Regions from separate parts of the Homo sapiens genome. Here region 1 is linked to region 2. Evidence: promoter capture Hi-C in human tissues and cell types (Jung and others, 2019). All regions are on one chromosome and are shown on one strand. Each heading gives the region's core, a stretch centred on a gene start or on the middle of the fragment in contact. The rest is flanking DNA. Distances are from core to core; before and after follow the strand shown.

Region 1 (7,172 bases), core at 1,720-4,219, 300 kb after region 2:
GCTGGGTCTGCAGGAACCGTCCCAATCTGGAGGGGAACGTTGCACCCCAGCCCGAGGAGGCCCTGGCCGTGTGAAGAGCCAGATATGACCCTCAGCCGCCGGTGGCACCAGCCTGAGTGGGGGGCTTTCCAGAGCTTAGGAGAGGGGTATGGCGGGGCAGGGGAGGAAGCTTGCCCAGACTCAGGGCCTCAAGGCTGTAGATTTGGGCTGAAGTTGGGGGAGGGAGGTGGGGGGCCGGGAGCCTGGCCTGTGGGTGGAAGGCCCTGAGCTGGCCATCCTGGGAGCTCTCTTCCAGGGGCTGCAGAGAGACTGTGTGCACCCTCCTCCATTCCCAAAAGCCTGGGAAAGCTGCACCATGGAATGTCAGCTCCTTCTCCCCGTCAGGGGATGACAGTTTTAGAGAGCAGCAGCAATAGTGCTTCCTATTAGAAATGGGGAAATTGAGGCTCAGAGAGGGCAGGAGACCCACCGAAGTTACCACAGCCAGTGTGAAGAAGGGTTAGGACAAGTCCCCAAGCCCCCAGCCTCCCTACTCTGAAGTCTGAAAGCTTTCCTAAGCAGCTCTGCAGAGTGGGGGCTCCCAGCCTGGGTTTCAAACCCGGACTCTGCCACTTGTCAGCTCTGGTGACTGACTGACAAATAAAACACATCTGTAGGCTGGCAGCGCTGCCCACACTGCACCTCAGTTTCCTCTCCAGTACAAGGAGCAGGGTAGCAGCCCCCTCAGAGGGCTGCGGTGCTGAGATAACACAGGGCAAGTCACACAGTAGGTGCCCAATAAATGCCAGCCAGCACCTCCCAGCCAGTCTGTCCTGCGGTTTCTGTGGGCTGTTTGGGGGATGGCAGCAGGATGTGGTTATCTCAGAAAGCGGAGGAGGGGTACTTGAAAAGGTTTCAACCTAAAGATCCTGAAGAGGCTCACAGGTTGAAGGATGAGGCTCTCCTGGGCCCAACTCCCGACCCTTCCCATTGCCTTGCTAGCCAGAGAATGATGTGAGGACACTGGGCAAGGAGGTGGGGTGGAGCAGAAGGCAGGGACAGAGGGCCCCTCTCCCCCGCCGAGGCACAACATTCATGGAAAGCCAATTCTCTGACAAGCCCAGGAGGGGCCTCTGCCATGGTCTGATTCCAGCAAAGCTGGGGGAAGTGGGGGGCTCTTCCAACTCCCCACCCCAAAAGGCCTGCCTGTTCAGGAGTCAGCATGGTGACCAAGAGCCCAGGCCCAGATCCATTGCACCCTGGCACCAATCCCAGTGTTGCTACTTGTATGCTAGGTGACCTGGGGCCCCAGCTTCCTCATCTATAAAAGGGGGATCCATTAATCCACTGAATCATCATGTCCACATTGTGTACCTACTACAACCAGGCACAGTGCTAAGCACTTAGCACATGTTATGTCCACATGCATGTAGCAGTAAGGAGATATTGCTAGGTAGGTATGATCGAGCTGGAATTTGAACCTAGAGCTGTTTTCAATGAGTAAGCTCTGTGCAGTTTAGGGTCTGGGGATTTGGGACTGAACGAATTGGTCAGATGGGGAGGGGTGCTGCAGAGGTAGGGATGTGCAGTCTGGGAGCTCAGTGAGGGTCTGGAGCCACTCTGGTCCCCCATGTTATGCTCTTTGCTGTGTGTCTGGACACCGGGGATGCTCTGGTCACAGGCTGCCCTGGTCCCACTGTACCTCATTGCTATCCTCTTCTAGCCAAAGACACAGTCCTTCTGCCTGGCAGACCTCCAGGCTGCCAGCGGGAGCCCACTGAGGTGGTCCCAGGTGAGACAGAGTCAAGGGGTCTCGGGGATAGTGAGCAAAGCCCTTGAGAAGGGCACTGGCTGCACAGCAGCACTTGCGGCTTGGTCTGAGCTTCCTCCTCACTGGTTGGGTGACCTCGGGCCAATTCACTGCCCTTCTCTGAGCCTCCCTCTCCTCCTCCGTGGAGGAGGGGGTAGTAACAGGATTTGCCCCATGGGTCTTACGGGTGATGGGGAAGACGGCATGAGGGTTGTCACTGCTAATGGAAGAGGGGCTGGACTGGGCTACAGGAATGACTGCCAGGCCCAGCTCTACCACCGCTGGCTGTGTGGCTTTGGGCAAGTCACTTAACCTCTCTTAATCTCCCACAGCTTTGCTGGGCGTGGTGAGATCACACCACTTCATTCCAGCCTGGGTGAAAGAGCGAAACTCCGTCTCAAAAAAATAAATTAATTAAAAAAAAAAAGTAGCTCATTCAAAGCCCACTTTACCAGGCTTATGAGCAGGGATGCTTCCAGGGCTCAACAGGTTCTAGCAGTGAATGGAAGGATGGGAGCAGCCAGGGAAGGGGCAATGCCGACTTAGCTCCAACTCCTGTTGGAGTCGGGGGATGCAAACCCATTGTCCCCATATCTTCTAACTTTCTTTTTTTCTTTTCTTTCTTTTTTTTTGAGATGGAGTTTTGCTCTTGTTGCCCAGGCTGGAGTGCAGTGGTGCGATCTTGGCTCACTGCAACCTCCACCTCCTAGGTTCAAGCGATTCTTCTGCCTCAGCCTTCCCAAGTAGCTGGGATTACAGGCATGTGCCACCAAGCCCGGCTAATTTTGTATTTTTAGCAGAGATGGGGTTTCTCCGTGTGGGTCAGGCTGGTCTCAAACTCCCGAACTCAGGTGATCCGCCTGCCTCGGCCTCCCAAAGTGCTGGGATTACAGGCCTGAGCCACCGCGCCCGGCCAGATCTTCTAATTTTCAAAGGGAAGCTGGAAATCCTTTTTAAATCAATTTTTAATGGGAAACTCTCCCCGCACACACACACACTTTTTTTTTGAGGCACAGTCTCACTATGTTGTCCAGACTGGTTTTGAACTCCTGGGCTCAAGAGATCCTCCCACACCAGCCTCCCCAGTAGCTGGGACTACAGGCATGACCCACTGCACCCAGCTAAATTTTTCAATTTTAAAATGTTGGCAACTCACTTAAATGTAAGACAAATAAACACATCTGTAGGCTGGCAGTGCTGCCCACACTGCCCAGACTAGGGGTTAGGGGGTCTGTATGGGCCATCACCAGGCTGCTAACCACAGCAACCAATATGTGCCAAGCCTGACTACACGTACCTTCTCATTCCACCCTCCTGGCAGCCTCACATCTGCTTTACAGGTGGGGAACTGAGGCTCTAAGAGACTAAGAAAATTACCCAAGGCCACTGCAGCTAGCCAGGGGCAGGTATGGGAGTCAGAGCTGGGTGCAGCTGACTACAAACCCTGTGCTCAGGATGACACCCTCTAGGAGCCTCGACCTCTCTCCCAGTTCTCTTCTCCCTCCACTCAGGCAAATGAGCTCTGCCTTCACAGGGCACCAGGCTGGAACATATGTCTGGAGGCCAGGGGCGGTGGCTCACGCCTGTAATCCTAGCACTTTGGGAGGCCAAGATGGGAGGATCATTGAGGTCAGGAGTTCAAGACCATCCTGGCCAACATGATGAAACCCCGTCTCTACTGAAAATACAAAAACTAGCTGGGCATGGTGGCTCATGCCTGTAATCCCAGCTACTTGGGAGGCTGAGGCAGGAGAATCACTTGAACCCAGGAGGCAGAGGTTGCAGTGAGCTGAGATCGCGCCATTGCATTCAAGCCTGGGTGACACAGTGAGGCTCTGTCTCAAAAAAAAAAAAAAAAAAAAAAAAAAGAAGGAACTTCTGTCTGGGGTGTGCCTAGCAGTCATTCACACCCTCACTGAAATCTCAGCTCCCTGGGAAAGGATGTCGTGTTAAAGGGAGAGGAAAGAACAGACAGCGTGGGAGTCTGGGGTCTGAGCTGGGCCAGCCATGGAGGTGATGGGGCCCCCGACAGCCAGAGGCCAGATGCAGCTTGAGGCTTTGTCCCGTACCACGCCTGTTGTGCTGTGGGGTGTACTTTGCCATGCATACCTTGCTCGCGTGCTGCGGGCATTGGCTGTCCCAGCTTGGCCCCACTCTTGCAAAGTCAGCTTGTGCCAGGTAAGCAGGAAAAAGCCGATGGCTTATCTGATTCCCGGCAAGGCAGAAGCAGGCTGGGAGGTGCGTGTGTGTACATTAGCATGTGTTTCAGCGTATCCAGACCAGCTTCCGCCAGGAGCTAGGACCACCTTGGGCAGGTACATGGTGACCCATTTGACCTGCAGATTCTTAGGAAACTTTTTGGAAACCATATGCCCACTTGCAGTGAGACACAGTGGTTAGGAGCATGGAGCCAGTTGGCCTGGGTTGAACAGTTTATTAGCTGTGTGGCCTGGGGCAAATTACGCCCTGGGACTCTCACCCGCAAACCAGAGATAATAATAGTACCTACCTCATGGGGCTGTTAGGCAAATTAAATGAGGTCAGATAAATGCAAAGTGCTTAGAATGGCGCTTGATGTGTAAGAAGGGCTCGACAAGGTTCTCTATTACTATCATTATCTCCAGCCCAGGCCCAGGAATGAGCTTCCACTCTAGTCAGGATGGGTGAAGCCCTTCCTGGCTTAGCACCACCCTTCCATCACCATGACAACGCACATCTCCTTGTGGGAGTGGGGGCAGCATCAGGAGAACTGGAAGCCAGGAGCTGGCTGTGCACCTTATCTGACCTGCTTCTAGAGGCTCCTGGGCACCTCCAGGACTTAAGGGGGTAGACTAGGACTTATGGCACCCCAAATGTGCTGGATAACCCTGACTGGAGCATGGCACCGAAGCTTCTTGACTCCAAAGCCACAGACTGGGGAGAACCCCGGAATTCCTGAAAATGTGGAGGGCCTTAGCTTTACCCTCTGATTCGACCCCAGTCCCAAAGGGAACCTACAGGATGCTCCGAGGGGTTGGGAATTGGTGGGTCACACTCCCCAAGGACTTTTTATACTGCGTCTGAATGGTGTTTGCATTTTTTTGCAAATTGGTTGCTACCTTTAAAACTCAGGAAATGGCACATAAAAAATTCAGGTATCTGGCTTTTCTTTAAAGTGCCAGAAGATCAAGCCACGGTGGTTGGCATTCCTGCTGGGGCAAAAATGCAGCTGCCCTTGGGCCAGGCCATCACTCTGCAGTTCTTACCTCCCCTTCCCCTTGCCCTACCACCCTGCACCAGGCCTGCAGGCTTACCATGTGTAACCACCTCTCTGAACTACAAGGGAATCCAGAAATTGGGGTGGGCATTATCCTGGCCCTCGGTGCCCTTGACCTGAGATCAGTGCAGCCCATCCCAAATTCCTTTTTCCAGGACTCCCACATACACCCACTTAGAACACATCTGTGAGCCAGATTTACTTCTTAGCACACTAATAAAACAATGAGCAGTCACCTAGGTTCAGGTAATGGGTTGTACGAGCTCCCAGACCTTTCTAGAACAACTTAAGCCTCAGTCATTCCTAAAAGCTGGGGGTGGAGGATGGGGTGGGGAAGAAACCATGCCAAGCAGTGAAAGGACTGATAATAGAATATTGCAGACACGCAGCCTTTCCTTCCCAATCAAAATGGAAGCATTTGAAGGAAGGCTCTGGCTCAAGCCAGGGGGGCCTTGCTCTAATGAGTCACCTACTGCGTCGCCGCTGGTCAGCCTGATGTTGTTAGGATGGAAATGAGCTGGGGTTGCCAGATTTGGCAAATACAAAAACAGGACACCCAGGAGCATTGATGTTTTGGATGAACAATGGAAAAGATTTTGGCGTAAATATGTCCTGTGGAATATTTGGGACACACATATTAAAAACGTATTTGAAATTTGGCCAGGCGCTGTGGCTCACACCTGTAATCTCAGCACTTTGGGAGACCAAGGCTGGTGGATCACCTGAGGCCAGGAGTTCGATATCAGCCTGGCCAACATGGTGAAACCGCATCTCTACAAAAAATACAAAAATTAGCCGGGTGGGGTGGCACATGCCTGTCATCCCAGCTACTTGGGAGGCTGAGGCAGGAGATCACTTGAACCCAGGGGCAGAGGCTGCAGTGAGCCGAGATCGCGCCACTGCACTCTAGCCTGGGCAACAAAGAGAGACTCCATCTGAAAAAACAAAACAAAACAAAACAAAATCTGAAATTCACATGCCACTGGGCATCCTGTGTTTTATCTGGCAATCCTGAGAAGAGTCTTAGAATGCTTGAAAAGAGCTTTAAACATCATTTCTTAAAATGCCAAGCCTCCCTTTGGTGGCACTCCCCTTATAGCTGAGTGTAAGCTCTGGATGACAGGCACGTGGGTGCCAGGAGGCCAGGACCTAGGAGCGGGACGCTGACTCTCTGCAGCCCTCTCCTCTCACTCTCTTTTCCCTTCCAGTCACAGTCACTGCAGCAGACATCATGGCTGTGGATGTGGCAGAATACCATCTGAGCGGTGAGTGCCCAGGGCAAACCCCTCCTGGATCACGCCTGCGAGACCCTTACACCAGGCCTGGGTGGGAGGTGTCTGTGGGACATGAATAATTAGTCCTTGCCATTAATGTCTTCACTGTCAAGGACAGTCAGTGACTTGCCCAAGGTCAGACAGCCCGCCCTGGGGACATCAAGCTTGGCCCAGTCTGAGGTCTCCTCATCTTGCCACTCAAGTGGCTCCTTCTTGTTAAAGTGACTTTCTCTCTTTCACTTGAAAGGGTCCCCGGGGAGACCCTCATCCTGCTGCACCCTGGGGATGAGCCTGTGACTCGGAATCCACTCACCGAGGCCTTCTGTGGAGACTGTCAAGTAGCCAAGGGAAAATAAGCCCAGGAAGGTCAAGGTTAGATTCATGGGGCGTTAAACTCAGAGACCACCCAGTCCAGAGGCAGAGGTTATAGTGAGCTGAGATCACACCACTGCACTCCAGCTTTCCAGCCTGGGCAACAGAGTGAGACTCCGTCTCATCAGAAAAAAAAAGAGGCCACCCAGTCCAGGGCCATGGCTCCCACCTTGTCACCCTTTGCCTCAGCAGGGAGATGGGAGCTGGCTGGGAGATGCCTCGAGACTCCAGACATACTCCTGCAGCCCTCCCCATGGACAGCGGATGGGGTCAGAGAAGAAACATACCAGCCGTCTTTTCTCCCTTTGTTCCTCTCCTCATTCACAGATGGGAGAAGTGAGGCTTAGAGAGTAACGGGGTCAGGATGTGCACTCAGGTCTCCTGACTCCCAGCCCCGTGCTCCCCATCACTCTAGCCCCTACCCTAACGCAGCCCCTGGGGAGCCCAGGGCTGATCTGAAGGGTGTGCCCGGGAATCACCT
Region 2 (6,392 bases), core at 1,899-4,398:
AAGGGCTGTCTTACTCGTTTTGGTGTTTTTCCAGACTCAGTACAACAGATATTCAATAAAGAGATATTGAATGACTTGACTATAATTCATTTTTTTTGGCCATGGAATTAATGTCTTTCTTAGGACTAGAGAGAAGCTCAAGGAAAGAATGAACACGGGATTGGAGAAGACCTGCTCCTGGGCTGGAATACTTTCAGGGTTGAGCTCAACAGCTCAGGTCTGGGGATTCTCAAACTTCCATGAATCACAACAACCTGGAGGACTGTTAAATCACAGGTCACCCCCCCATCCCCCAGTTTACGATTCAGTACTTCTGGGGTGGTACCTGGGAATGTGCATTTCTAACCTGTTCCCGGGTGACACTGAAGCTAATGGTCTGGGGACCACACTTTGAGGGCCACCCTTGTCCAAAGATGAGAAGCAGCTGGAATTGGTTAGAGGAGCCATGAGTGTTGAGAAGACACAAAGTTTCAGGGGTGAGTGTGACCCAGGGTTAGCTTCTAGGTCTGCTCAGGCCCTACCCCACACTAAACTCAAATATCACTTCCCCTCAGGAGCTCAGGCGATGGGAGAGGAAGATGAAGATGGAGTAGGTACCACAGGTAATGAAAGAAACAGCACAGCGAACCGCAGATATGCGGGAGGAGAACGGCAGAGCTAGAGAAGTCACGGGAAGGCAGAGTTGAACAAATGACAGTGAGATGAATAATAGATTAGAAGAAATGGGGACTTTGGCAAAGTTCAAATCTTATTTGCTTCTAAGTATAAATGGGTGGACTGGCAGAGAGATAAAACGAAAAAGAAGTCACAAATCAGCTCAGGGCCTCCAGGAAGGCAAGAGAAAGATGGGCCCAGGGCAGAAGGAAGGAACAGCAAAACCCCGACCCACCTCTCAGACTGTGTTCCTGATCAATTCCCTCGGAGGAAGTTAGGAACTGGGCTGAAGAGGGGGACTGAAATTTTATTTTCTCTTCTAGAATCCTCCAGTTATGGCAGATTTATTCAAATATTCAGATTCTTCACTCCCTTGCTATCTCCCTTCCCCAACCCGGGGTCACATCAATTTCTCTAAGGGAAGAATGTAAACTCCATCCTATCTTCTCCTCGGCCAATCCTTTGCCTTTCTGAATAAGCCAAGAGGTTGCCCCACACCTCAAGCTAAGACACATATTTGGAACTCACTCTGCCCCTCTTCACCTTCAAGGAAAACTGGTTTGTTGCTACCTCTGCCCATACCTGAAACCCCCGGGCTCTCCAGCGTTGGAACTGTGGCTGCTCCGAGAGGGGGAGGGCAGACGACATGTAGCAGGTTAAGACCGGGGCAAACCTGCACCTCACACAAGCATGCAATGTCCTGGGGTCAATGGGGTAAAGTTCCAAGCGAGTGGAAGGTAAATCACGACTGTGGCACCGGAGCCGGAACACCCCCGCGAGCAGGCCTTGCTGGGTAGTTCCGTGCGGGGCGGACCGCACAGCCCTATCAGCTTCCTGGCCACAGAAACGCCGCACGCGGCCGCTTCCCCGCCGCCCGAAGCGTCTGCTTTCTCCCCGGGCCAGTTCCGGCCACCACAGCCAACCGCGTGCCCCTCTCCCACACACTGTGGGGGAACAGAAGGGAGCGCGTGGAGCCAGCTGCCAAAGAGGCGAGGAGGAGCCCACGCGGCTCCGGGGAGGAGGGAGCCCGGCTCCCGCAGTCCGCCGGGCAGAGGCGGCCGAGCGCGCCCCCAGCACCTGGCCCGGCGCCGGCCCGTCCGCCCCGCAGCCCCGGCGACGCGAGGGGCCGGCGCTGTCAGACCCGCTCCCAGCCTCGCCGCGAACGTGTCCGTCAGCCCTAACTGTTCCAGACTCTTCTCCCGGCTCCAGAGAGGCCCGAGTCCCCCCCCCTCGGCCTTGGCCCCCACCGCCCTCATCCCGGTACCTGTGTGGCTGGCACGGGACCCTCTCCGTCCCGTCCCCGCCTGCTCCCGCCCCGGCTCACCCCGGCCGCCGGGACCCGACCCCGACCCCGACCCCGACCCCGCCGACCGCACGCGGCCGGACAAAGCGCGCCGCCCCGCGGGCCGGGACAAAGCGGGCGGGGCGCCGGCACCTACCTCGGCGCGGAGCCGCGGCCGGGCGGGCGGGGGCGCGGCGGGCGGGGGCGCACCGGTAGTTGCCGCGCCTGCAGCCCGGCCGCGACGGGCGGTTGCAGGCAGCGGCCGGGCGCACGGCGGGCGGCGGGCGGGCGCTGTCACGGGGCGCAGGCGGCGCGGGGGGCGCGCGGGGCGGGCGGCGGCGGGGCGCGTGGCGGCGGCGCGCGGGCGCGAGCGGCGGGACTGCGGCGCCGCGGAAGGAGGACAATAGCCTCCCCCTGCCGCAGGCCGCCGGCTCCCGCGGGAGGCCCGGGACCATCTGGAGCCGGCGGCCCCGCGGGGCTCTGGGCGGGGCCCGAGTCGCCCCTTCCCCGCCCAGCGCCATGGCAACCGAGGCCCCTCTCGGTGCTCCCCGCCGCTCCCCGCCCGGGGTAGTTGACCTGCCTCGGGGCGAACGCGGCAGCAGCTCCGAGGCCGGCTGCCGACCCCCAGCCACCTTCCGTGCGGGGTCCCCCCAAAACCCCGCCTTCCCGTCCTCGCTGGTCCCTGGGTCCCCCACCACAGCTTACAGGTCTTGATCTCCCCGGTTCGGACACCTCACCTTTGTCCCTATTCTGCTTTTCCTCCAAAATCCGTATCCCCGAGACACGCGATCCTTCCTCTAATGACACTGCCGACGAGGTTTCCCGAGATCCAGCCTCCGTTCCCCTTTCCTCTCCGGGCACCTCCAGTCCGTCTCCGCTAAGCATTCCTCTCACCCGTCCCCTCGCTCTCGCGTCCTCCTTCAGGCAGCTGGGCCGGCTCTCCCTCCCAGAACATCTCCATGGCACAGTGAAGATTCGTCTTCTACAGATCAGATGCTCCAAACAGGCATCTCAGCGCTTCTCAGCTCCTCTCATTTATCAACCAGGAGAATTCCGGCCTAGTCACCGTCTTGAGGGGGGTGGGGGTGGGGGCAGACATTTCTAGGCCTGACACGGCTGGGTTTCTCCTTGGTTTGTTAGCGTCTGAGTGGTCTAAGGTCCAAGGTCCTTAACCAAGGTGAACTGCTGCCTGCTTAGGAGAGGAAGGAATTATGCCCAAATCATGACAAACTCACAGAGTGCCAGGTGGGTGCTAAAAGCGCATCATCTCATGTGACACTCCCACCCCCACTCCAGCTCTGAGAAGTAGGTGCTGTTCTTCCAGATTAGAGAACTCAGCTCAGAGATGAGCCAGTGGTAACAGGGTGAGCTTTGTACAGAGCCGTTAGGTTATGTACTGCCCCTGAAGATGAGGGCCCGTTTCTATCCAGGGAATGCCTGAAATGGTCAAGTAAGGGCACTCAAAGAATGGGCTTTGAGTGAATTATTGGATTTAAGGTTTTATAATAGATTTATGGGTAATTTAGGATTTTGCTCCTTTCTGAAAAGGTATGCATACTGAAACAAATATGTGCAATTGAAGTACTTTCCAGATATGGTTTTGACAACCCTAACTAGTGGTGTCATCTACCTCGCCTTGGTTTTCCTAGTCTATAAAATGGGTTGGGAGGAGGGTTGGGGAGTTCCATTGAAAGATTACTTTGAAGTTCTCTCCTAGCTCTGATATCTGTGCTTCTACCACGAAACTGGAACTGGCTCTCTGGTGTGTACCTCACAGTTAGCTGCATTTGAGGCTATTTATTATTATTATTATTTTGAGACGGAGTCGTGCTCTGTCACCCAGGCTGGAGTACAGTGGCTTGATCTCGGCTCACTGCAACCTCCTCTTCCCGGGTTCAAGCAATTTTCCTGCCTCAGCCTCCCGAGTAGCTGGGATTACAGGTGCATGCCACCATGCCCGACTAATTTTTGTATCTTTAGTAGAGTCAGAGTTTTGCCATGTTGGCCAGGCTGTTCTTGAACTCCTGACCTCAGGTGATCTGCCTGCCTCAGCCTCCCAAAGTGCTGGGATTACAGACGTGAGCTGCCGTGCCAGGCCTGAGGCTATTTATTATTTTTAATAGCCACTCTTTCAGGCAATGGCATTAAAGAAACAAGGGCATAAACTGCAACTCTTCCCAGAGGTAGGATTATGTGTTGGTTGGTTCGGGGGAAGGAGGCACCAACCTGTGCATGACGGTCATCAGGGACACTTGGTCAGGGACATTAAAGCTGATGGGATGAGAATCAGCTGCCCATGGCCAGGCGCAGTGGCTCACCCTTGTAATCCCAGCACTTTGGGAGGCCGAGGCAGGTGGATCGCGAGGTCAGGAGTTCAAGACCAGCCTGGCCAACATGGTGAAACCCCTTCTCTACTAAAAATACACAAATTAGCCAGGCGTGGTGGTGGGCATGAAATCCCAGCTACTCAGGAGGCTGAGGCAGGAGAATCGCTTGAACCCGGGAGGCAGAGGTTGCAGTGAGCTGAGATTGTGCCACTGCACTTCAGCCTGGGCAACAAGAACGAGACTCCATCTCCAAAAAAAAAAAAAAAAATTAGAGAATCAGCTGCCCTGCCAAAGGAACTGGAACCACCAAGCTGCTGCTGCTGTACTGGTTACGGGAACTAAGGGTCTCAATGACAGCCTATAATATCGTGACCCAATTAGAAGTCAAGGGTATTAAGTCTTATGATTAGCAAAATAATATCTTTTATAATTTCCTATTTTCAGCATTTCATAATCCTTCAAGAAGCCTTGTAAGATAAACATTCTCATTCTTATTCTATTGATGAACAGACTGATGTTCAGACACCTAAGTGAATGTACAAGTTCACAGAATTAGTTCATGGTAGAAACTCCAGGTCTTCTGAATCCTAATATGTTCTTTCCTCTCTGCTAGACAGGGAGTATAGCAGAATGGTTAAAAGCATTGATTTTGGAGTCAGACTCCTTGGGTTTAAAACATAGTTCTGCCACCCACTGACTATGTGACCTTGGGCAAGTTACCTCCCTAGGATTCAGTTTCCTTACATGTAAAATGGCACCATAATGTGGGGAACATCAAATGAATTATTGCAGGTAAATGAATTATATGCAGCACATAGTAAGCACTTAATCAGTATCAGCCGTTATGATTTTACCGTATTATTTCCCATACTGTTTCCCGATTTGGAGAGGAAGCACATTGAATAAAGAGAACACTGAGATCACCTATCTCAGCTCTGTGACTGGGTTGCTTTGGAAACTTGTTATTTTGCTCTGTAGTGAACCAGTACAGTCAATGATGAAGAAAATATCTGGTTCCTTCTTATTTGAGTTGCAAAAGCGAATGGAATGATATCCACCAAGTTTGTTGAGCTTCTCAGTGAATCCACATTTGCTGCTTACATTACCAAGATTCATGGAAAGGTTTTGGCTCTGCCCACCAAACATACATACATAGCCGAATTCTCAGTTCTTGTTTCAATACCAGGGAAGAGGTGTCCCTCTTTTCACCTAAGATGGATTCTTCTGGCTCCTATGCTAAGTCTCATCCCCTTCTGCAGCCTCACGGCCCTCACTGCTGTCTCTCAGCTGGTTCCTTCCCATCAGCATTTAAACATGCTCAAGCATTTGCCAGCTTAAAAAATAATCAAGAAGCCCCGACTTCCCTCCATGCATTCCCCTTGCTCTTTATGTTCACAGTCTTCCTGAGTCATTTGCACTCATTGGCTTCACTTCCTCGCCCCTGCTCAATCAAATATTTATGCAAAAACTATATGGCTAATTATATACCAGGCACTGTGCTGGGATCTGGGGATATAATGATGAGTAAAATGGATACTGTCTGTTTTCTCTTGGAAGAGCCTGTGGTGGGATTGACAGACATTAATAAAATAACCCATCAGATATATAACCACAAAGTATAATGAGTGTTATGAATGAAAAGTTCAGGATGTTAAGAGAGAACTGAACAGAGTCATAACCTCAGATCACCTGAGCTGAGATCTGAAATATGAGAAGCATTAACCAGACAGAGTGGGGAATAATAATAGCTGTTACTAACATTAACGTGGAACTGTATTTCTAATACTTTACACATAACATTTCATTTAATCCTTTATAACAACTCCAAGAGGTAAGTATTAACCCCATTTCACAGATGAGGAAATGGAGACATTGAGAGATTAAGTACCTTACTCAGGGTCATCAAACCAGGCAAGGGTAGAGCTGGGATTTTAACCCAATCTGACCCTTGAACCCATGTTCTTAGCCACAGAGCATATGGCTAACAGGCCTGATGTTGCAGGACACATGGTGTACATAGGAAATGGAGAAAAGAGGCCGGGTGCAGTGGCTCACGACTTTGTAATCCCAGCACTTTGGGAGGCCAAAGTAAGCGGATCACAAGGTCAGGAGATTGAGACCATCCTGGC

What was found. Contacts are between HindIII fragments. The study calls those that stand out against the background at their distance.
Region 1: a contact is called between a fragment that was not itself captured here and the fragment with the promoter of SPTBN2 in region 2, in 2 of the 25 tissues and cell types used here (heart left ventricle and mesenchymal stem cells).

Annotation. Positions count from the first base shown.
Region 1 is chr11:67,023,869-67,031,040 of GRCh38, forward strand. SYT12 (synaptotagmin 12) reads left to right here. Exons shown (of 8, transcript NM_177963.4): 2 at 6,254-6,310. The coding sequence starts at 6,277. Among named protein-coding and RNA genes, the nearest start is that of SYT12, 4.3 kb to the left of the region's middle. RefSeq lists enhancers at 1-197, 1-25, 198-698, 3,909-3,978. The HindIII fragment of the contact is 5,223 bases long and covers 359-5,581 here.
Region 2 is chr11:66,726,068-66,732,459 of GRCh38, forward strand. It overlaps SPTBN2 (spectrin beta, non-erythrocytic 2), which reads right to left and starts at 3,149. Exons shown (of 38, transcript NM_006946.4): 1 at 2,674-3,149. The HindIII fragment of the contact is 42,487 bases long and covers 1-6,392 here.